Regions from separate parts of the Homo sapiens genome. Here regions 2, 3, 4, 5, 6 and 7 are each linked to region 1. Evidence: promoter capture Hi-C in 16 types of primary human blood cells and fetal thymus (Javierre and others, 2016). All regions are on one chromosome and are shown on one strand. Each heading gives the region's core, a stretch centred on a gene start or on the middle of the fragment in contact. The rest is flanking DNA. Distances are from core to core; before and after follow the strand shown.

Region 1 (2,830 bases), core at 131-2,630:
TTAGCAAAAGCACAATTCAATAAATAAAATCTCAGTCACACAACATGCCTAATAATGAGGGCTCCTTTGCATATCAGATATGCCGTGTACCTGTAGAATAACTTCATTAGTACCTAAAGGTCATCTGAATCAACAACCACCAATATTCACTGATACTAAATTGTGGGAAGAAATGTCTCATTTGCTGTCATATAAAACCAACATTACCTGAATAATCATAGGTGTCTACTTTTCAAGATGTGAAAAAAACTTCATATATTACCTTGATCAGTAATTCATAACCCTGGTTGCACATTAAAATAACTTCTGGTAATTCCTAAAATATACTGATGTCAACCTCATCAGAACTGGAGGAGGAGTGCATCAGTAGTGTACTAAAACTCCTCAGTGATCCTAATATGTAGCCAGGAATGAGAATTATCAATCTCTTAGATTAGAGATGCTCCTGAAGGTTACTCTATAAACCAATGGGATCAGTTCTCCCCTCCATATCTTTCCGTGCACAACAGTGGAAGGGAAAAATGAGTGCCACATATTTCAAATGATTTTTTAGCAAATTGATTCTGGAGCATGTATACATGGTAGAATCTCAAACTTCAAGCATAAGAAAATTCATAAACTCTATCGTTAATGCCCAGCTATGACGATGCTGCAGACTTGTGCAAAGAGTTAATAGACTGTACTACTAACAGGGGAGGGGGCAGCTCACCCAATAACAGATGTCTGATTACAGACGCAGTACAAGAGCGAAAAGTACAGACTTTAAAGCCGGTCAACCCGGGGCTCTGCCACACACTGTTTACCTAAACCTGGGTTTCCTCCCTGTAAAATGGGAATTCACATCTACTTCATAAGTAGATATTAACGAGCTAAAACACCTAACTTAGTACGTAGTTACGATGATGATGACTCAATTTATAATACTAAGCTAATTAATGTCTGTTGAGTTTAACTAAAAGCAGAGGACCTGGAGAAAAGACCGGTCTAGGTCACTGCCACTGGCCCGCAAGCTCCTTTTCACAAATGTCCCGATGATGACATGTCATGAGCAGAAGACCAGGCAATTTCAGGCCATAGGAGAGAAAGGATGCAGAGGACAGGACGAGACTTGTAATGCCAAAAGGGGCCCAGAGGCCGCGCATCCCACCTATCGAAGCCTGGGCCGCGGCGATGCCGCCAGGTCTCCAGGATGAACCGAAGGGAGGCCGATGGTGGAGAATAGAGCACGCAAGGTCCCTCACCTTCACTACAGCTGTCCCCCGGCTGCCCTGCCGGCCACTGTCTACTCCCGCTCCGAGCTTGTTTACAACCAGGGTAGCCATCCTCGCAGGGGAAGCGCCACAGAAACAGCCTTCAGAGTCCTCAACTGAGAGGCGGGGTTGAGCCACCTACCCAGAGGCCTCTGCGCACGCCACCGGCGCACAGGCGCAGTAGGACACTGGGCGCCGCTTAGCCGACTCTTACTCCTCCTCCCCGCAATCGTCGGGTGGTTAGTTGCACAGCCTCGCGCATGGGCACTTTTGTTATTTTTCATTATGTAGTCTGCAGCTGCTGGAGGAAAGACAAGAAAAAAAAAGAAGGGACAAAACGATTAAAGTTTTGGGGTGAAAACTCCAGATCCTTTAATGATTTTTCCTCTCGAATCCAAACCAGCCAGGGCGTGAACTGAGGGCGGTGAGGGGGTACGGGCATCTCCCTGCATGCAACGCGGTTTTTGTATAAACTACAAATCCCAGCATGCCACTCTCTCTCTCTCTCTTTTTTTTTTTTTTTTTTTTTTTTAAAAAAAAAACTCCGGCAACGTTGGCCTTTGGGAGGCCGCGTATTGTTACCTAGGGGTGGTTTCTTTTCCTGCAGTCGCGATGTGTGATTGCAGATGGAAAACAAAGTATTTTATGCCTACGTTTCTAAGATAGAAGAAATGGACTTGTTGAAAAGAAGCCAGTTTGTAAAGGACACAGTAGGAGAATTTAAGGTACCACCACCAGAGAGAGGTTGAGAGTGCGTTTGACTTTTGGTTTTGCCAAACGCGAGGTTTTCCGTTTCCTTCCGGGGCAAGTTGAACCTGTCCAGCCCCCGTAGGCTGTGGGTCAAAAGTGCCGGTCAAAATGGAAGTGAATCCCCCTAAACAGGAGCACCTGCTGGCGCTAAAAGGTAAACTTTTGCGAACCTGATTCCCCCTTTTCTGTTTCCTTGCATTCCCTACTTATCGAAGCCTTTGCCATGTAGGCCTCATCCTTCTTAAACACTCAGTGCTCGCCCTCCTGCTCTGTCCTTTGCCGCCAAGCGGGAGGAAGCGATTTCTCCTGGATGCTTTTTAGGTTTATGGGCCCCTTTCTAGAACGAAATAGATACCTGGTAAATCGTTCTTTCTGATCTGTGCTGCTTCAGTCACGAGATTTTAGCCGCAGAAGCTGACGTCCCGCTCCTACCGTGGAGATCTCTGTGAATTACAGCGGGCATCCAAAGTGCTTTTTCCTTCTGTCTCTTGTTTCTTCCTGTGGCACTGACGAAGTTAATCAGGCTTCAGCTTCCCCTGTAAAATTAGTATTGCATGACAGTAGTGCAGAGAATTTAGCAATACATAGTAATACAACATATAACTTAGATTTATTCAAAACAAACTGCAGTTTACTTCAAATCACTGTGTATGTGGGAAATATGTCCGAGATCTAATGTCAACTCTCATTTTTTGTACACAGCCATTTTGAGTAAGTTTGGTGATTTAATTAGATCATTATTTAGGAAAAAACAGCAGCACTTTTTTTTTTAGGACAATTTTTTTAATGCCTATTTTCTGGAAACCTTTTATTTGAAATCTTTTCAGCTT
Region 2 (2,830 bases), core at 177-2,676, 870 kb before region 1:
GTCTCGCTCCATCGCCCAGGCTGGAGTGCAGTGGCGCAATCTCGGCTCACTGCAAACTCCACCTCCCGGGTTCACGCCATTCTCCTGTCTCAGCCTCCCAAGTAGCTGGGACTACAGGCGCCCGCCACCACGTCCGGCTAATTTTTTGTATTTTTAGTAGAGACGGGGTTTCATCGGGTTACCTAGGATGGTCTCGATCTCCTGACCTCGTGATCCACCCACCTTGGCCTCCCAAAGTGCTGGGATTACAGGCGTGAGCCACCATGCCTGGCCTGTGAATTTCTTTTAAGTTAATTTTGCTAAGGAAATTCTGCCACAGAAAGAGAGACCCATGTTATTTAATAATATATTCAAACTTAACTCAAAACTTTAAAAAACAATATATTCACTATTGAAATATACTGAGAAATAAGCTCTTTTTCTATCAAGTATTGAAATTCTTTAAATTGTACAATCTGAACAACTATTTTTGCAACAAAAGAGAGAGAATATTCTTTTGTAAACAATTGAAAAATACCCATATTTTTGGGAATTAAAAGTATTTCAAATCATCTTCTTGACCTTTCTCTTACCTTTATACAAGCAATACAAAAATTCTGGCCCCCAAATAAAAGATAAGCTAATTTGTAAATGAAATTTCTATTAGAAAGACTTGTAAATTGAGAAGACCTTCATCTTTAATAGCTGTGGAGATGTAAATTTAACACAGAAGGGAAATATGACTAAATTTTTCCACAGGAGACAAATCAGAAATTGTTTAACAACTAAATCACTAAAATCAAAGATCTAAATAATAAAGCAAAAATAACTAAATACGGAAATATTGACAAAACGATTTGCTGACTTGGCTTCTCCTAAAGAATTCTAATTACTGCAGATACTTCCATTGTTGTCTTAAATAAAATAACAATGAGGAGACTACATCAACAAATATTTTATTTCCAGAAAATGAATTTAATTGCTTTCCTCAAAGTGTTAGGTTAAAAGAAGTCCAAGTATAGAGACTGATATTAGTAGACAGACTGGGAAATCCATTCCAGATTTTGAAGTAAATGAAGCATTTGTAGGTTCTTAATTCTTGAATAAAGAAATGAGGCAGGTAAGTCAGCAATGATTAAAAGAAAGTAAACAAAGTTAGCAATGCTTGAAAGAAAGCAAACAAGTAGAAATATAAACAAATTTAAAAATAGAAAAGATTTCATTGCACTCATTTCTTGCGTGCAAGTACATTCTTCAGTTTTCATTTATGTGAGTGATATATATAGTTATATATGCAATTTTGCTACTTGAGCAAGCTTCCCTTGAGCCAGTTTTAGCTTTGCTTGGAAGTATGCGACTTGTTCTCTCAGCATTCTTTTAATGTGCCCTTCTGATGGAGATTTATGCCGAGTACTCTCTTATCACATGTTCTTGCATGAACATCTTTTTGTCAAATCATTCTTAGTTGGTAAAACTTAATAACTCTTCAATGAATTGGAATGTATTAACAATCCAGGCTAATTCACACGGTCTGCAAACAACTTAGAAAATAGCAAATGTTGTTGCTATAGCTGTTACTAAAGCTTTAGGCATTACTATATTTAACTAAAGAATATTTACTTACAGTATAAAATTACAAATTTATATTTATAATTACACATGCTTAAGTTTACCTTTTCACTCACTTAATCATAATGGAGATTAATAATTGTTTAAATCAAGTTTTCGCCCATGAGCAGAAATTCTGAGACCAATTGAATCTTTAAAGTAAATGTAATAAACACAAAAAATCTTCATAAATAGTTTGCATTGCCTTCACTTTTTCTCCTAGTATGTGGAAAGGGGGAAAAGAATAAGTATGTATATAGTTTTTAAAAAATATACTTTCTCCAAACTCCTTAATCTACTACTAACCACCTGTATCTTCATGCTACTTTTGGTAGTCATCAGATACATAGCTACCTGTTACTGGGTCTAAAGCAGGGAAGAAAAGTGAATATTTAGTGCTAACAGAGGAATTTCTGTAACTAGATGTTAGCTTAGGGCTAAAGGACTATGCAACTGGGCCCCTGAAATCAGGGTGCTACATTATATTGCCCAAAGAGGCCATGATTCCAGTATGAATAATGCAAAGCATGTCATCTTTTAGAATACTTACGGTAGCCACATTTTTTACAGCCTGCTCTGACACTGTCCTTGTTGCAACCTGAAATACAATTGGATAGAATTTTAGGAAGTAAATAAATATGCGAAAACTTAAAAACTTTATTGTATGAAAAAAGCTAAGAAAAACCATTTGTTATAGAATTTCTTTTTTTTTGTTGTTGAGACAAGGTGTCACTCTGTCACCAAGGCTAGAGTACACTGACATGATCACAGCTCACTACAGCCTCCAGCTCCTGGCTCAGGCGATCCTCCTACCTTAGCCTCCCAAGCAGCTGAGACTACAGGCATGTGCCACCACACCTGGCTAACTTTTAAATTTTTTTGCAGAGATGAGGTTGTGCTTTGTTGCCCAGGCGATCTCAAACTTCTGGCCTCAAGCGATCCTCCTCTGGCCTCTCAAGGTGCTGGGATTGTAGGTAAGAGCCACCGCACCCAGTAGAATTTATTTCTTTAAGAAACAGCAACAACAAAAAATCATCTCTGACCCAGCTTAATGACCTACTCAATTATATGACTCTTATAAATCAACAGAAAGGCCAATTTACTCAAATTATTTGACAAATACATCAATAACATTTTTTTCTAATTCAATATAATAAAATAAGACAAACACATATGGCTAACAAACATAAAAAAAAGCTCCACATCACTAATCATCAGAGAAATGCAAATCAAAACCACAGTG
Region 3 (2,830 bases), core at 242-2,741, 850 kb before region 1:
GAAATGTAGTACTTGACAGAAAGTTTTTAAGCATAAGAGGTAATTCCCTGAAGATGAAATTTCCACATATTATGATCACTTATTCTAAATTGTGTCTGGCTTCTTCACTTAGTGTAATGTTGCTTTCAAATGATAGGGGTCTGTCTTCCTGTTGTACACACTTAGTTTTTAAATATCTTGAAAATCAAAATGGCTTTATAAGTATATTTGCATATATGTTTATAAGAAACATGATATTATCAAGGTATTAATTGGGAATTTTAAGAGAAAGAGCCAAGGAGGCCTACAAAGTAGTGATGACCAAAGAGAATGTATGGCCAGAGGAGGAAGGAGCCATATACCTTCTTTATTAATTCAGTAGCTTATTAATGAAAAGATTAAGAAACCCTGGTGAGCAAAGTGGCCCGATTATATATGCATTCTTTTTACTAGGTGTAAGTTGCCTGTGGCCAAAAAACCACGTAATAATGACTATCATTTTTTGAGCACTTATTATTTGTCATTTACTTTTCTAAGCAGTCTATGTATTACAGCTCATTTTGTCCTCACAGAAATCCTAAAAGATATTATTATCCCGTTTTTAGATTAGGAAATTAAGTGACAGAGATGTCAGATAGTGTGCGCAAGGTAACAAAGCTAGTAAATGGAAGGGCCAGTATTTGAATTTGGGCATCCTGATTCCAGAGCCTGTGGAGGGAGGGATGATGTAATTAGTGTGTTCATTAGAGCAGTGGTTTCTAAACCAGTGAGTGCATACTTCAGTGGGTGTGCAAAACCATCCATGAGCTGTGGGGAGAAAATCTATATATATTTGTATTTTTTTCCTTTGTTTAAATTCATTATTTAATATATATAAAAAGATGATGACTGGGTGCAGTGGCTCATGCCTATAATCCCAGCACTTTGGGAGACTATGGCAGATTGCCTGAGGTCAGGAGTTCAAGACCAATCTGGCCAACAGGGTGAAACCCTGTCTCTACTAAAAAAAATGCAAAAAAAGTAGCCGGGCATGATGTTGTGAGCCTGTAATCCCAGCTACTCAGGAGGCTAAGGCAGGGGAATTGCTTGAACCAAGGAAGTGGAGGTTGCAGTGAACTGAGATCACACCACTGCACTCGGGTCTGGGAGACAGTGAGACTCTGTCTCAAAAAAAAAAAAAAAAAAAAAAAAAAAAAAAGTCCAGGCGCAGTGGCTCATGCCTGTAATCCCAGCACTTTGGGAGGCTGAGGCGGGCGGATCATGAGATCAGGAGCTCGAGACCAGCCTGGCCAACATGGTGAAACCCCGTCTCTACTAAAGATACAAAAAATTAGCTGGGTGTGGCGGTGGGTGCCTGTAGTCCCAGCTACTCGGGAGGCTGAGGCAGGAGAATTGCTTGAACCCGGGAAGCAGAGGTTGCAGTGAGCCGAGATCGTGCCGTTGCACTCCAGCCTGCGCAACGGGGTGAGACTCTGTCTCAAAAAAAAAAAAAGGCACTTTTTTGGCATTGTGGTGTAATTTTTCATAACGACTAGCCAAATAGATTTATAGACCATAGTATTTAGATTAACTAAACCAGCCATCACAAATTTCTTATTGAAGATATTATTAATAATATAAACAAGCAAATCATAAGAACATGATAGAGCTGATACCTCAGCATGGGAAGTCTGTCAAAAAAATCAGAAATTATTATGAAGACCATTGGAAATATGGATTTCTATTTATTGTTTTCAATGGTGAACTTTGCCTTAAATATATATTGTGTCTTGAAATATTTACCAGTAAGAGTATAAAGTCATTGTGATTTTCAAGACATTTAAAAACTAGATGTGTAGAACTGAAAGACCCCTATATAATTTGAAAGCAACATTATGCTAAGTAAAAGAAGCCAGACACAAAAGGCCACATATTGTATGATTCTGTTTATATGAAATGTTTAATAGGCAAATCTACACAGACAGAAAGTAGATTAGTGGCTGCCAGAGAGTAGGAGTAGGGGTAAATAGGGAGTGACTGCTAATGAGTACAGGGTTTCTTTTTAGGGTGGTGAAATGTGACTTAGCATTGATGATACTGACCTATGAGAAACAGCCTCATGTTTTTGAACAGTTATATTGCATACTCTTTACTTGAAAGAGCATTCTAAAAGATTGTGATGGTCACAAATTATTGACACTGATCTACTTTGGTATACTAGGGGAGAAAAAAGAAGAAGTAATACTGGAGAAATTGGTTTCCAGCTATGCCACAATGTTCAAATTTAGAGCCTAACATTCTTTTTGGTTATTTGTGGTTATAAATAAGACAGTTATAAACTGTTTCCTGTGGGCCCAGCAGGGAGGGGTTCTAGTTGCAAAGTTTCTGGTTCTACCAAGGAGTATCTGCTGTTATGAGCTGGTGGAAAGGCTATCACGGGATTCTATTTACTATAGAAGGTGATTTTAAGACATAGTATTTTAGTAAATCACAAGCCAGAATTAGATTAAGAATGTTCCTTTGTAAATTAGGAATAGCATGATGTTAAATGAGCAGAGAGAGTAAAAGGTAATTAAAAAGGGTAATTATAAAATTGTCCTATAATGTCACAATTTAATGGGTTCATTATTCTTTAATTTCTTAATTTGCTACACAGTTTTATTGGAATTGATGCAATGGGAAACTCAATTATAACAAATTTGCATTATTGGGGTTTTGTCATGTTTTATTTTATTTTGAGACAGGGTCTTGCTCTGTCATCCAGGCTGGAATATAGTGGCATGATCATAGCTCACTATTACTTCAGATTCCCAGGCTCAAGTGATCCTCTCAACTCGGCCTCCCAAATAGCATGGAACACCACCATGCCTGG
Region 4 (2,830 bases), core at 331-2,830, 820 kb before region 1:
AGTAGTGTCTCCTTTTTATATACACATTTCAAAAGATTCTCATTCAAGAGTGTAGTGATCTTTATTAGTTGTAGTGGCTAACAAAGCTAACAAAACAGAAGGAAGATTTTCCTTTAATACATAAGAGTCAAGTTTTTCAAATTATACATATGCCACTTTTTATATAAAAACCCATTAATCTGTGCATTGTATAATTTACTAGGAAGTACATAACTTTCCATGCATGAACACAGATTTATCTATTATCACAGTCAAAAGAGAAGGCTCTCTATGGCTATCAGTAGTAGATAGAGAGAGGATGAATATCTGACCTTGTCAAGAAAAGCTTCCTGGAAGAGATGATGCTATTTATGTCTTATATGAGAGTTAGGAGTTAGCTAAGTCAGAAAAGAAAGTGATGAAGGGGGTGAGGTCCCTCTAGCTCAGAGAATAGCATATGCTAAAGCATGGAAATAAGGAGAGATCATACCTTATTTAGGAAATACAAACGGAAATTTAAAGTTTCAAGGAGTCTGTCTTGTGAAGAGCAAGGAAGAAGAGTATTGAAGGTAAGGGGAACTGCATATACAAAATGGTCCGAAGCAGGAGAGTTTGGTGTGTTCTAAGAGCTGCAAGCAGGCCAGCGTGAACAGGGTGTGGTGACAGGCCAGAGCTTCATTACAGAGCTTCATAGGCCATGGTGAGGGGTTTGAGTTTTTTCCTAAAAGGAAGTGAGGAACAGTTGAAAGGTGTTTGTTAAAAAGAAGGATGCTATGATCAATTTTGCATTTCAGGAAGATCACTATTGGCGATATTATAGAGGACAAATTAGAGGAAACAGACTGATACTGGGAAGCTATTGTAGGAGGAGAGCTTGATATAAGACCACAGCTGTGAGATGGGAAAGAGGTAGATTTGAAAGAGGTCTAGGAGGTGACTGATTCTACACTATGAGGTGAGGGAGGAGTAGTCCAAGACAACCACAAGGTTTCTGGTTTGAGCAACTTGTTAGATGGGTGCAAAAGAAAGCATAGGGTTGAGGTGGAGAAAAGGATGAAAAATAATGAGCTTAATTTTATACATTTCAAGATTGAGGTAATTTGGAGACATCTGTGTAACATAATATGGGTCTAGAAGTTAGGATCAATGTATAGGATAGAAAGTAAAAGTATAGATTTGCTCTTAATATCATGGGTGAGTGACTAAAACTGTGAATCCTTTCCCAGGAAAATGTACTACATTCACAACCAAAATTATATGAATTTGCAGGGAATTTTTTTTAGATCTCCTGAGGCCTGAGCATGGAAGGCCTAGGTTGGTGGTTGTCACCTTTTAGTGCTTAAGAATTACTTAAACATCTTGTTGAAAACATTCGTAATTCCTACCCCAGAGATTTTGGTTCAATAAGTCTGCAATGAGGGCTAGAATTTTAGGTGTTAATAAACAACTATGTAATACCATCTAAGGACCAGACTTTGAGGACCAGTGCTTTAGGGGTCCACAAGTCTCAAATTAAGAATCCTGCTTCACTACGACTCACCAGATCAAAGAAAGAATCACAAAAGAAAAATGATCCACTTGGGGTTATTTCTTCCTTCTTCTCTCCCCTCTTTCTTCCCTTTGTTCCTCCATCTGTCAATGCTGGGCACTATTCTAGGAGTTGAAGATACAGCAGTAAGCAAAACAGGCCAGAATTTTAGCTCTCATGGAGTGTTTGCTGTAATTGGATGACAGACAATACACATGCAAATAATTAAAATATATGGTGTATCAGATAGGTGATAAGTACTTTGGAAAATAAGCCAGGGAAGATGAAAGAGTACTGGAGGTAAGTGTGTGGTTCTACCATTTTAATAGGTTAATCTCATCACCAAGAGGGTAACATTTGAGCAAAGATCTGAAGGAGATGAAAGAGCAAGCAATGAAGAGATATCTGGAATAGAGTATTTGTTTCAGGCTGGAGAGAACAACAACTCCAAAGTTGGCTAGTGTTGGTGGGCTGGAGTTGTAGGAGATTATGTCAGGGAGGTTTAGATTGCATAGGGCCTTGAGTGAGTTGGGGACCCACTAGAGGGTTTTCACAAGAGAAGTGATTGCTGTGACTTGGATTATAGAAATCTCAGCTTCTGCACTACACCTCTTCTACTTGAATTGATCCCTGTTGAGGTCAGTATGCTGGCCAACTGCCTTCAAAAGCCACATTTCCCACTGAGATAAGAATAGGAATATAGACAGAATAGCCCGAGTGACACAGAGGGAGAAGTCTGCTGCACAAAGGAGCTGGGCATGAGTTGAGCGAACAGCCTTTCCTGGGGTATCCCATAATTACATAGTTGGCTTAGAGCAGAACCCAGGGCTATTCCCACCTGTAGCAGATTCTTCAAGGGCTTATAATTCAAAACAAAAGAAAACAAAATAAAAAAAAAAACCTAGTTTAGAATGCAATAAGGAGATTCAGTGGATGCAATAGATCTCTAGAAATGAAAGGGGAAATTGAGCACCTGGCAAATACTCATTTTCCATTTCTACAGGATGGAGAAGATGAAAGTGCAGAGCATGATGAATATATTGATGGTGATGAAAAGAACCTGATGAGAGAAAGAATTGCCAAAAAATTAAAAAAGGACACAAGTGCGAATGTTAAATCAGCTGGAGAAGGAGAAGTGGAGAAGAAATCAGTCAGCCGCAGGTGAGTCAGTTACTGTGCTAGATATCAGAGTTTTTGTCTTTTTATATTTCACTTTAATTCAGATTGAATCCTCTCTTCAGCTAATTTTTAAAATACTATTTTCATAATGTTTGATAAACATAACAGTTGTACAAATTGGCCCATTAGCAGGCCTAAAATAAA
Region 5 (2,830 bases), core at 201-2,700, 590 kb before region 1:
CTTAACTTGTACCACTTAACTGTTTCCCACAGTGAAGATTCCAGTCAAATACTTGCCTTCCTGTAAAAACTTAGGGCACAGCCCTCCAGACTTAGTGACATAATCTGTGACTTGAGCCATATGTTGTTCCATGTCATCTGCAGAGGCCCATGGCTTGTTCCTAAAAAAGACCTAGAAGTCAGACTCCATAGGAACTAAAGAGTCCTCACTGCAATTGAGAGACAGGGCTAGCTGGATTTTCTAGGCCAACTAAGAATCCCTAAGCCTAGCTGGGAAGGTGACCACATCCACCTTTAAACACGGGGCTTGCAACTTAGCTCACACCCGACCAATCAGGTAGTAAGGAGAGCTCACTAAAAAGCTAATTAGGCAAAAACAGGAGGTAAAGAAATAGCCAATCATCTGTTGCCTGAGAGCACAGCAGGAGGGACAATGATCAGGATATAAACCCAGGCATTCGAGCCAGCAACGGCTACCCTCTTTGGGTCCCTCCCTTTGTATGGGAGCTCTGCTTTCACTCTATTAAATCTTGCAACTGCACTCTCTTCCAGTCCGTGTTTGTTAGGGCTGGAGCTGAGCTTTCGCTCGCCATCCACCACTGCCGTTTCCGGCCACTGCAGACCCGCCACTGACTTCCATCCGTCCAGATCCAGCAGGGAGTCCGCTGTGCTCCTGATCCAGTGAGGTACCCATTGCCGCTCCTGATCAGGCTAAAGGCTTGCCCTTATTCCTGCACAGCTAAGTGCCTGGGTTCGCCCTAATGGAGCTGAACACTAGTCACTTGGTTCCACAGTTCTCTTCCGTGACCCATGGCTTCTAATAGAGCTGTAATACTCACCGCATGGCCCGAGATTCCATTCCTTGGAATCCGTGAGCCCAAGAACCCCAGGTCAGAGAACACAAGGCTTGCCACCATCTTGGAAGCGGCCTGCGGCCAGTTTGGAAGCGGCCCGTGGCCATTTTGCAAGCAGCCCGCCACCATCTTGGGAGCTCTGGGAGCAAGGACCCCCTGGTCACACAATCGCTGAACTACAGCCCTCTGCTTCTGGCTCCCAACTTTCTGAAGCACTGTGGGGAAGATGGTTCTTCACCAATCCTGCAATCCAACGGCCACCCAGTAAAATGAGGAACAGACATTCTTCCCAGCCCTGTGGGCTAGACGAGTAGCTAGTGTCTCTTCTATAGGTTGGTAATGGTTCCAGGTTGTAGAATGAGGTCTTCATGACTTACGGGGCTGTGGCATCATTGGGTTCCTGGATGACATTCTAATATGGTCCATGACCTGCCTTAAGCTCCTGGGTAAACCCTCTCTTCATGCATAATGTGGGTAATGTATTTAGCGTCTTTCTCCAAAGAAAATCTCTATGCTAACAAGGGTTAGTAGTGTGCTGGAATGGTACACTCACCTCTCTTGCGCATGGTAGCTCACCCCCTACTCCCTTTAACTATCCAAAACACTCGATGTCTCCTGAGCCTTGTTTAATAACAGGGCCTTTTTTCCCTCCAGACAATCCCATCAAGAACCACCTAAAAAAAAGACAGCTATTTAAAAATCTGTGACACTCAAAAAAGTCTTCCAACATATGAATGCCAGCTCTTTTTGTCTTTAATCCTCTATTTTTCTTACTGTTGGTAAGTAAAACTTATGGGGAGGGGAGGGGGGTTTGTTTTTATTTTGTTTTTTTATAAGTGCACTTTTTCTTCAACCACCTTATATGCAGGAAGTGAAGTAAATATTGACCTAAAAACATTAAAGCACCTTCAAAAACCAAGTAGTTTTTCCCCTAGAATTACTGTACAACTAGAAAATGGCCTTGGTTGTCATTGGCCTTGGTTGTCATTGACCTTGGTTTAATGCCTGGTTAAACCCTAAGGAAACTGCTTCCAAGACAGGATTTAGATGCTCCAGAAGTTGTTAGAATGTGGTGCACAAAAAATATTTCATATCCTGGTTTACTTGCCTGAAGAACCTCCATGAAGTAGACTCTATACAGGAAACAATTCCATCTTCCAGAGTGAATATTCACTCATTTGCTTTTCCAGCCAGGAGACTGGAAGAAGCCAGCAGGCAATGTAGTCATTTGGTAATGTTCTTCCTACTGCCAAGATGGATTAATGCTGGGAGACCTTACAACGGGTGAGTAATCGGTAGTGCGTGCAGGCCCTCGGAGATCCCTGAGGTGTGATTATTTTCATGCGTACATTTCTGTCGTCATCCTCCAAAGGGTGCTTTGTCATTTCCTTCACTCTTTCCTCACTGGACTCTCAAGTCTGTATTACAAGGATGACATGATTTCCAAGTCATTGCCAATCTCCTCAAACTGAGTTGGTGAGCACTTTAAGGACATTGCTAAAATGTGAGGGTTGTACTAACAAGATTACTCTGGTTTCCCTTTAAATGATTCTGGAAAAGTATGAACAGTTGTTTATTAAAATATGATTTAGAACCTAATCAACCCCTAGGTCCACTGCCTTGTTTGCTATGTTCCTACCTAATCCTCAGGTTGACATTAAGATGGCATGGACCTATTAAGATCTCAGACTATGAGCAACTACATTGAAACAACAATGTAAATATGTAAGATGTGAGTTTTAAAATTAATTGCACTTTGCATTTTTTAGCATTACTATCATTTACTCCCTGAGCTGCTCTCACCGCCACCACTCCAACTCTTCAACTTGTGTTCAACTCCCTTCTGGAAGTAAACAGGCCTGTGAAATGGGAAATCAGACATCAAAAGAGCTCACACTCTAACCTTTTGTTCAAGTTCTGTCCCTGCCACCAACTAGCTGGGAGTCCTTAGAGGATATACCTAAACTTTCTGAGTTT
Region 6 (2,830 bases), core at 90-2,589, 560 kb after region 1:
ATAACAACACATCTGTTCACAGCATGATTTACTATTTTAAATCCAGTTTTGAGACCTATTGCTAAAAAAACAAATTCCTTTCAGAATATTACTGTTCCTTGACAATCTCCTGGTTGCCCAAGAGCTCTGATGGAGATGTACAAGGAGATTAATGCTTTCATGCCTGTACAAACGATATTCATTCTGTAGCCCGTGGATCAAGGAGTAATTTTGACTTTCTAGTCTTATTATTTAAGAAATACATTTCATAAGGCTATAGCTGTCATAGATTGTGATTCCTCCGATGGATCTGGGCAAAGTACATTGGAAACCTAGAAAAGAGTTACCATTCCAGATGCCATTAACATTTGTTATTCATGGGAAGAGAACAAAATAACAACATGAGGCCAGGCGGGGTGGCTCACGCCTGTAATCCTAGCATGTTGGGAGGCTGAGGAGGGTGTATCAGTTGAGGTCAGGAGTTTGAGACCAGCCTGGCCAACATGGCAAAAGCCCATCTCTACTAAAATACAAAAATTAGCCAGACATGATGGGTGCATGTCTGTAATCCCAGCTACACAGGAGGCTGAGGCACAAGAATTGCTTGAGCTTGGGAGGTGGAGGTTGCAGTGAGCTGTGATTGCGCCATTACACTCCAGCCTGGGCAACAGAGGGAAACTGTCTTAAAAATAAATAAATAAATAAAAATAAAAAGCAACATCAAGAGGAGCTTGGAAGTAGTTGCTTCCAGCCCTCATGGATGGCTTTGAGGGGCTTAAGACTTCAGTGAAGGACTTCACTGCAGATGTAGAAATAGAGAACTAGAATTAAAAGTGGAACCTGAAGATGTGACTGAATTGCTGCAATCTCATGATAGAACTTGAAGAGATGAGGAGTTGCTTCTTATGGATGAGCAAAGAAAGTGGCTCCTTGAGATGTAATCTACTCCTGGTGAAGATGCTATGAATGCTGTTGAAATGACCACAAAGGATTTAGAATATTACTTAATTGATAAAGCAGTGGCAGGGTTTGAAAGGATTGACTCCAATTTTAAAAGTACTACATGGGTAAAATGCTGTCAGACAGCATCCCATGCTACAGAGAAATCTGTGAAAGGAAGAGTCAATCGATGTGGCAAACTTTATTATTTTAAGAAATTGCTACGTTTACCTCAGCCTTCACCAATCACAACCCTGATTAGCAGTTATCAACATCAAGGCAAGACCCTCTACCAGCAAAAAGATTATGACCCACTGAAGGCTTAGACAATCGCTAGCATTTTTTAAGCAGTATTTTAAATTAAGGTATGTACACTTTTTTAGATATAATGGTATTGCACACTCAATAGGCCATAGTTATAAAACATAACTTTTAAATGCACTGGGAAACCAAAGAATTTATGTGACTTGCTTTATTGTGATACTCACCTTATTATGGTGGCCTGGAACTGAACCCCTAATATCCCTGAGAATGCCTGCAACTTCCATCTTGTTCCCACCCTCAGTCACATCTGCTAAGTCCTCCCAATTGTGCATTTCCTCTGAAATATCTTAAGTATGCCCTTGTATGATTTTAGTTACATGGAATAGAATCACTCTAGCAGAAAAGTAACTGTAGTATTAGAATTGTCATTTTCCTTTTAGTCTGCTTCTGTAGCCTACTAATTGGTCTTGCAACCCCAGACCTTTTTCAAATTCATTTCAACGTATGTTGCCACTTGATTAAATGTATTTAAATTGGTCTGAGTTTTTTTGTAATTTCATTCTGGTTTTGGTATAAGGGGCATGCTTGCCTAATAGAATGAGTTGGAAAGTAATTCCCTCCTCTTCACTTTTCTGAAGGAATTTGTGTCAAATTGTTAAGGTAGAATACCTCAAAAAAGCCAACCTGAGCCTGGAATAGTCTTTCACACTACAAATTCAGTGTTAAAACTAGATTTAGAGTTATTCAAGCTATTTATTCTTAGGGTTTATTTGTTTTGTTTTGTTTTGTTTTAGAGTTGGGGTCTCACTATGTGGCCCAGGCTGGTCTCAAACTCCTGAGCTCAAGAGATCCTCCTCCTTCAGCCTCCTGAGTAGTTGGGACTACATGCACACATCCCCATGCTTGGCCCTTGTTTATTTATTCTTAAATGAGCATTGATGTTGTGTATCTTTAATGAAATTTGTCTATTTTATCTAAGTTGTCAACTTTATTGCCATGAAGTTATTCATACTTCCTTACGACCTTTTAATACATATAAGATCTATACCGATGTCCTCTCTCACTCATAATATCGTTAACTTGTGTCTTCCTTCTTTTTATTCTGATCAGTCAAGCTAGAGGTTTATCAATTTATTTTCTCAAATCAGATTTCACTGTCATCAATTTTTCTTTTTTAGTTCACTGATTTCTGCTCTTCATTATTTATTTTCTTTTTCTTCTTTTGGATTTAGTTTGCCCTCTTTTTCTAGTTTAAGGTGTGAACAGGAGTCACTGACTTCAGACCTTTCTTTTTTAATATATGTATTTAGTGCTATACATTTCCTTCAAAGCACTACTTTAGCTGTATTCTAACAAATTTTGCTGTGTTGTATTTTCATTTTCATTGAGTTCAAAATACTTCATAATTTTCCCTTAGATTTTGTCTTTGATCCATGGGTTATTGAAATGTGTGTTAATTAGTGTCCAAATATTTGGGAATTTTCAAAGATCTTTCTGTAACTGATTTCTAACTTAATTTCATCATGGTTAGGACACATCATTTGTATGATTTAATTCCTTTGAAATTGTCTGAGACATGTTTTATGGTCCACAAGTAATCCACTTTGGTGTTTTGCATGCACTTGAAAAGAATGTGCCTTGCTTTTGT
Region 7 (2,830 bases), core at 130-2,629, 530 kb after region 1:
CAGATAAATTTGGAAGTGTCTTTCCCATGCTTGGGGGTTAGAGTGGGTAGGGAAGATAAAAATGGATTAAAGTTAATTATTGGCCAAATGTATCTTTATCTGCTGATCTGTAAGGCTACAGTAAGCCCCAAATTGGTGAGGTGGGAAAGGAGCTGGTGAATGGTTTCGTTCTACAAACTTTGTAGTGAAATTTCATACTGAGAAACTGCATGGGAAAAAAGAAATCAGGTAAAAGGTTTATTAAACTGGAATATTAATTATATCAGAAAATTAATACCACCAATAACACTGGGTCTTTTATTGTGTTAGCTTATTACTGAATTGGAAGGAAGAATTTTATCAGTGTTGCTTGGTTGAAACCTGCTTTATTCCCATAGAATCTTTCATATATCTGAGAAGCCCTACTGTATTTTGTTATAAATGTTCAAGATGATGGGCGTGTAGATGTCCCTTTTATTGTTTATTTTACTTGATAGAGATGAATAAATGCACAGTCAGATGTACCTTTTTAGTGTTTTTAATATTACAACTTGGACAGTTTTACTGTTTTTGAACAGAAAAATTTAAGCATACTTTTATTGCAATTTAGTTATAAGTAAGTAAATATTTTGAAACACTAACCTACAGTTGGTATTGGTGAAACATTCAGATATACGTTTTTCATTAGTTGTATTAAATACGGCAGAGATGAATTTATGGAACCTCGAGAATTTCACAGTGAGCTGTTAAAATACTGATTATGCACTACAAGCAAAGAAATAGTGCATTATTGTACTAAAAAAGATAGCAGAGTGAGTGTGAAATAACCAAAGAAAAGTATTCCAGTGGAGTAAGTTCTGTAAGAGGAGATGTGCTGTGGTGCTGTAAGCAAGCAGTGTTCTGTTGACCTCACTGAATGCATCCTTTCCTTGATGTTGAACAAACAGCATCATGACATAAGTGAGAAAAACCATAGAAAAAAATTTAAGAAGTTTTTTCAGTTTCTTTGAATTGCTGTTTTTTAGTGTAGACAGTAATGTGAGAAGATCCTAAGTTGTAAAAGTAACATTTGATGTGTAACAGTTTCATGCATATTAAGCCTTAGCCTTTGTTAATAAAACATGCCATTTCAAAATAAAATATGCTTTCATTATACTTGTCCAAATATGACCTCTTTTTGTTGTTGCGTGCATTTCAGATTTCTTTTTATAAATGTTAACACGTAGAAAAAGATACGGTCAAACATAACAAGGGTGTCAGCCTAATCATCAGTCATAACTTTATGTCCACATTTTCTGGTAGATGGATTTTGACTATTAATTTGGTTTTGTATGTTTTCTCTATGTGATATTTGTGCATTATTAGATGACTAGACTGGCCAAGGCAGACCTGTTACACTTGCCTGAGTTAGGCATTGTTTGCCATGCCACTAAACCTGCCGTCAAGTGAAACCTTCATTGGGGAAATGAGATCGGAGTCTGAACCGCAGAAGATGGACGCCCTGTCTCTGTTTTTTATTGTTTTACTTTAATTTCATTTCTTTTTCTTTATTTTGTCCCTTTTTTTGTTTTTGTTTTTGTTTTTGTTTTGTTAAATCTCTTTCACTTTAACTTGTGAGCTGGTTTTCCCAGTTCTTTGTAAATGGTATTTCATTAAGGGTTCATAACGTGTTGCAAATTATATTGGGAGATGATTAGTAGAGCTCAACCTTAAGATAAAGCAAATTTTCATGTGGTAAATTAGGATACAGTGTTGTGAAGCTCATTGTGAGTCTTAATTTGTGTGTATGGACTCATAAGGTACATTTTATTCTTGAAACATTAAAACACTGATAAGTATCTCAGGAACACTTTCTGATCTCAGCGCAACATTTTTCTAGTTTTTTTCCCCCCTAGTCTACATCTCTCATAAAAACTGATAGCTTCTAATTTTTGTCCTTCCCCCTGGAATTTTAGGCATACAAAATCATCAAGGAAAATAAGTAAATATAACAATCTGGGAGTAAAGAAGAGCCTTTCATTTTTATGATGGTTATTTATCATATAACTTATTTCCTTGACTTATGAAGACTTTTTGTTGCCTATGTGGGGAATGGATATTTGAGAAACTTAAGTATTTGCATGTAGGTTTTTGTTAGCTTGAATTTTTTGTTGAATATTTTTCAGAGGTTACTAGCTTCTAAATGGATTCTGAGATTAGGACTATAATACTGTGAGAGATGTTTTCCTCAGTTGACTTTGAGGAGTATAGTTTGGGAAAAATGCTAAATGCTTATTTGTTTTATACTTTTATAAGCTCTGTTATTTGGAGGGTAAATTTGGTAGAATTCTATCTTGGAAATTAAGCAATGGAGCTTTTTCTTAAAGTACTTTTGCCATTACCTTTAGGTAATTAGAATAAGTATATAGAGTAATTAGAATGGTAATTGAAAGTTAATTTATTAAAAAATGTGCTTATAGTGGATTTATACATTTATAGTAGTATACTATATTTATAGTAGTATACTCTTTTGAAAGGCAGTGGGAGAGTTTGACAACCTACTGATACTTAAGCTGAAAGTGAAAGACTTCATAATACTAAGTAGTCAACTTTTGGCCAGTGTTGAATACCCTTTTTGTTTGTATAGTCTTTCTACAATGTCTTCAATAGGTAGTTTTACTTATTAAAGGACAAGTAATATTAAATTTGGGACATTACTAGATTAGAACTCTGAGTTTCCTTAGGTGCATACATTAAGGTAGTGACGATGGAGTTTCTGCCTCAAAACCTCAATTTATCAAGAATGTTCAGGTTTTACAAACCTTTTGAGATAATACCAATTTATAACAGATAAAACAGGTGAAATCAATAT

Evidence for each region. The method cuts DNA at HindIII sites, captures the fragments that hold promoters and counts their contacts. A CHiCAGO score of 5 or more calls a contact.
Region 2: a contact is called between a fragment that was not itself captured here and the fragment with the promoter of TRIM23 in region 1, in 3 of 17 cell types (naive CD8 T cells, total CD8 T cells and activated CD4 T cells). The highest score is 5.8, in naive CD8 T cells.
Region 3: a fragment that was not itself captured here is called in contact with the fragment with the promoter of TRIM23 in region 1 in 10 of 17 cell types (fetal thymus, naive CD8 T cells, activated CD4 T cells and 7 more); the score reaches 11.7 in fetal thymus.
Region 4: a contact is called between a fragment that was not itself captured here and the fragment with the promoter of TRIM23 in region 1, in 1 of 17 cell types (naive CD8 T cells). The highest score is 6.1, in naive CD8 T cells.
Region 5: a fragment that was not itself captured here is called in contact with the fragment with the promoter of TRIM23 in region 1 in 2 of 17 cell types (total CD8 T cells and naive CD8 T cells); the score reaches 5.2 in total CD8 T cells.
Region 6: a contact is called between a fragment that was not itself captured here and the fragment with the promoter of TRIM23 in region 1, in 1 of 17 cell types (non-activated CD4 T cells). The highest score is 5.6, in non-activated CD4 T cells.
Region 7: a contact is called between a fragment that was not itself captured here and the fragment with the promoter of TRIM23 in region 1, in 12 of 17 cell types (neutrophils, monocytes, naive CD8 T cells and 9 more). The highest score is 13.2, in neutrophils.

Annotation. Positions count from the first base shown.
Region 1 is chr5:65,622,953-65,625,782 of GRCh38, forward strand. TRIM23 (tripartite motif containing 23) reads right to left here and starts at 1,381. Exons shown (of 11, transcript NM_001656.4): 1 at 1,242-1,381. The coding sequence starts at 1,322. TRAPPC13 (trafficking protein particle complex subunit 13) reads left to right here and starts at 2,075. Exons shown (of 13, transcript NM_024941.4): 1 at 2,075-2,154. The coding sequence starts at 2,109. It overlaps SHLD3 (shieldin complex subunit 3), which reads left to right and starts at 2,075. Exons shown (of 2, transcript NM_001365341.2): 1 at 2,075-2,154. RefSeq lists enhancers at 1,051-1,380, 1,511-1,590. The HindIII fragment of the contact is 4,327 bases long and covers 1-2,830 here.
Region 2 is chr5:64,752,178-64,755,007 of GRCh38, forward strand. SREK1IP1 (SREK1 interacting protein 1) reads right to left here. Exons shown (of 5, transcript NM_173829.4): 2 at 2,138-2,185. It overlaps LOC124900985 (a long non-coding RNA gene), which reads right to left. Exons shown (of 4, transcript XR_007058787.1): 4 at 2,562-2,593. Among named protein-coding and RNA genes, the nearest start is that of SREK1IP1, 15 kb to the right of the region's middle. The HindIII fragment of the contact is 267 bases long and covers 1,294-1,560 here.
Region 3 is chr5:64,771,479-64,774,308 of GRCh38, forward strand. The region is part of intron 1 of CWC27 (CWC27 spliceosome associated cyclophilin); the gene reads left to right. Among named protein-coding and RNA genes, the nearest start is that of CWC27, 4.0 kb to the left of the region's middle. The HindIII fragment of the contact is 3,566 bases long and covers 1-2,830 here.
Region 4 is chr5:64,801,719-64,804,548 of GRCh38, forward strand. CWC27 (CWC27 spliceosome associated cyclophilin) reads left to right here. Exons shown (of 14, transcript NM_005869.4): 10 at 2,511-2,668. Among named protein-coding and RNA genes, the nearest start is that of CWC27, 34 kb to the left of the region's middle. The HindIII fragment of the contact is 2,515 bases long and covers 324-2,830 here.
Region 5 is chr5:65,030,267-65,033,096 of GRCh38, forward strand. No RefSeq gene overlaps it. Among named protein-coding and RNA genes, the nearest start is that of CWC27, 260 kb to the left of the region's middle. RefSeq lists an enhancer at 1,367-2,566. The HindIII fragment of the contact is 2,956 bases long and covers 1-2,830 here.
Region 6 is chr5:66,186,598-66,189,427 of GRCh38, forward strand. It overlaps LOC401191 (a long non-coding RNA gene), which reads left to right and starts at 648. Exons shown (of 5, transcript XR_007058794.1): 1 at 648-2,830. The HindIII fragment of the contact is 4,113 bases long and covers 1-2,830 here.
Region 7 is chr5:66,154,721-66,157,550 of GRCh38, forward strand. All of the region lies in intron 2 of SREK1 (splicing regulatory glutamic acid and lysine rich protein 1), which reads left to right. Among named protein-coding and RNA genes, the nearest start is that of SREK1, 12 kb to the left of the region's middle. The HindIII fragment of the contact is 4,476 bases long and covers 1-2,830 here.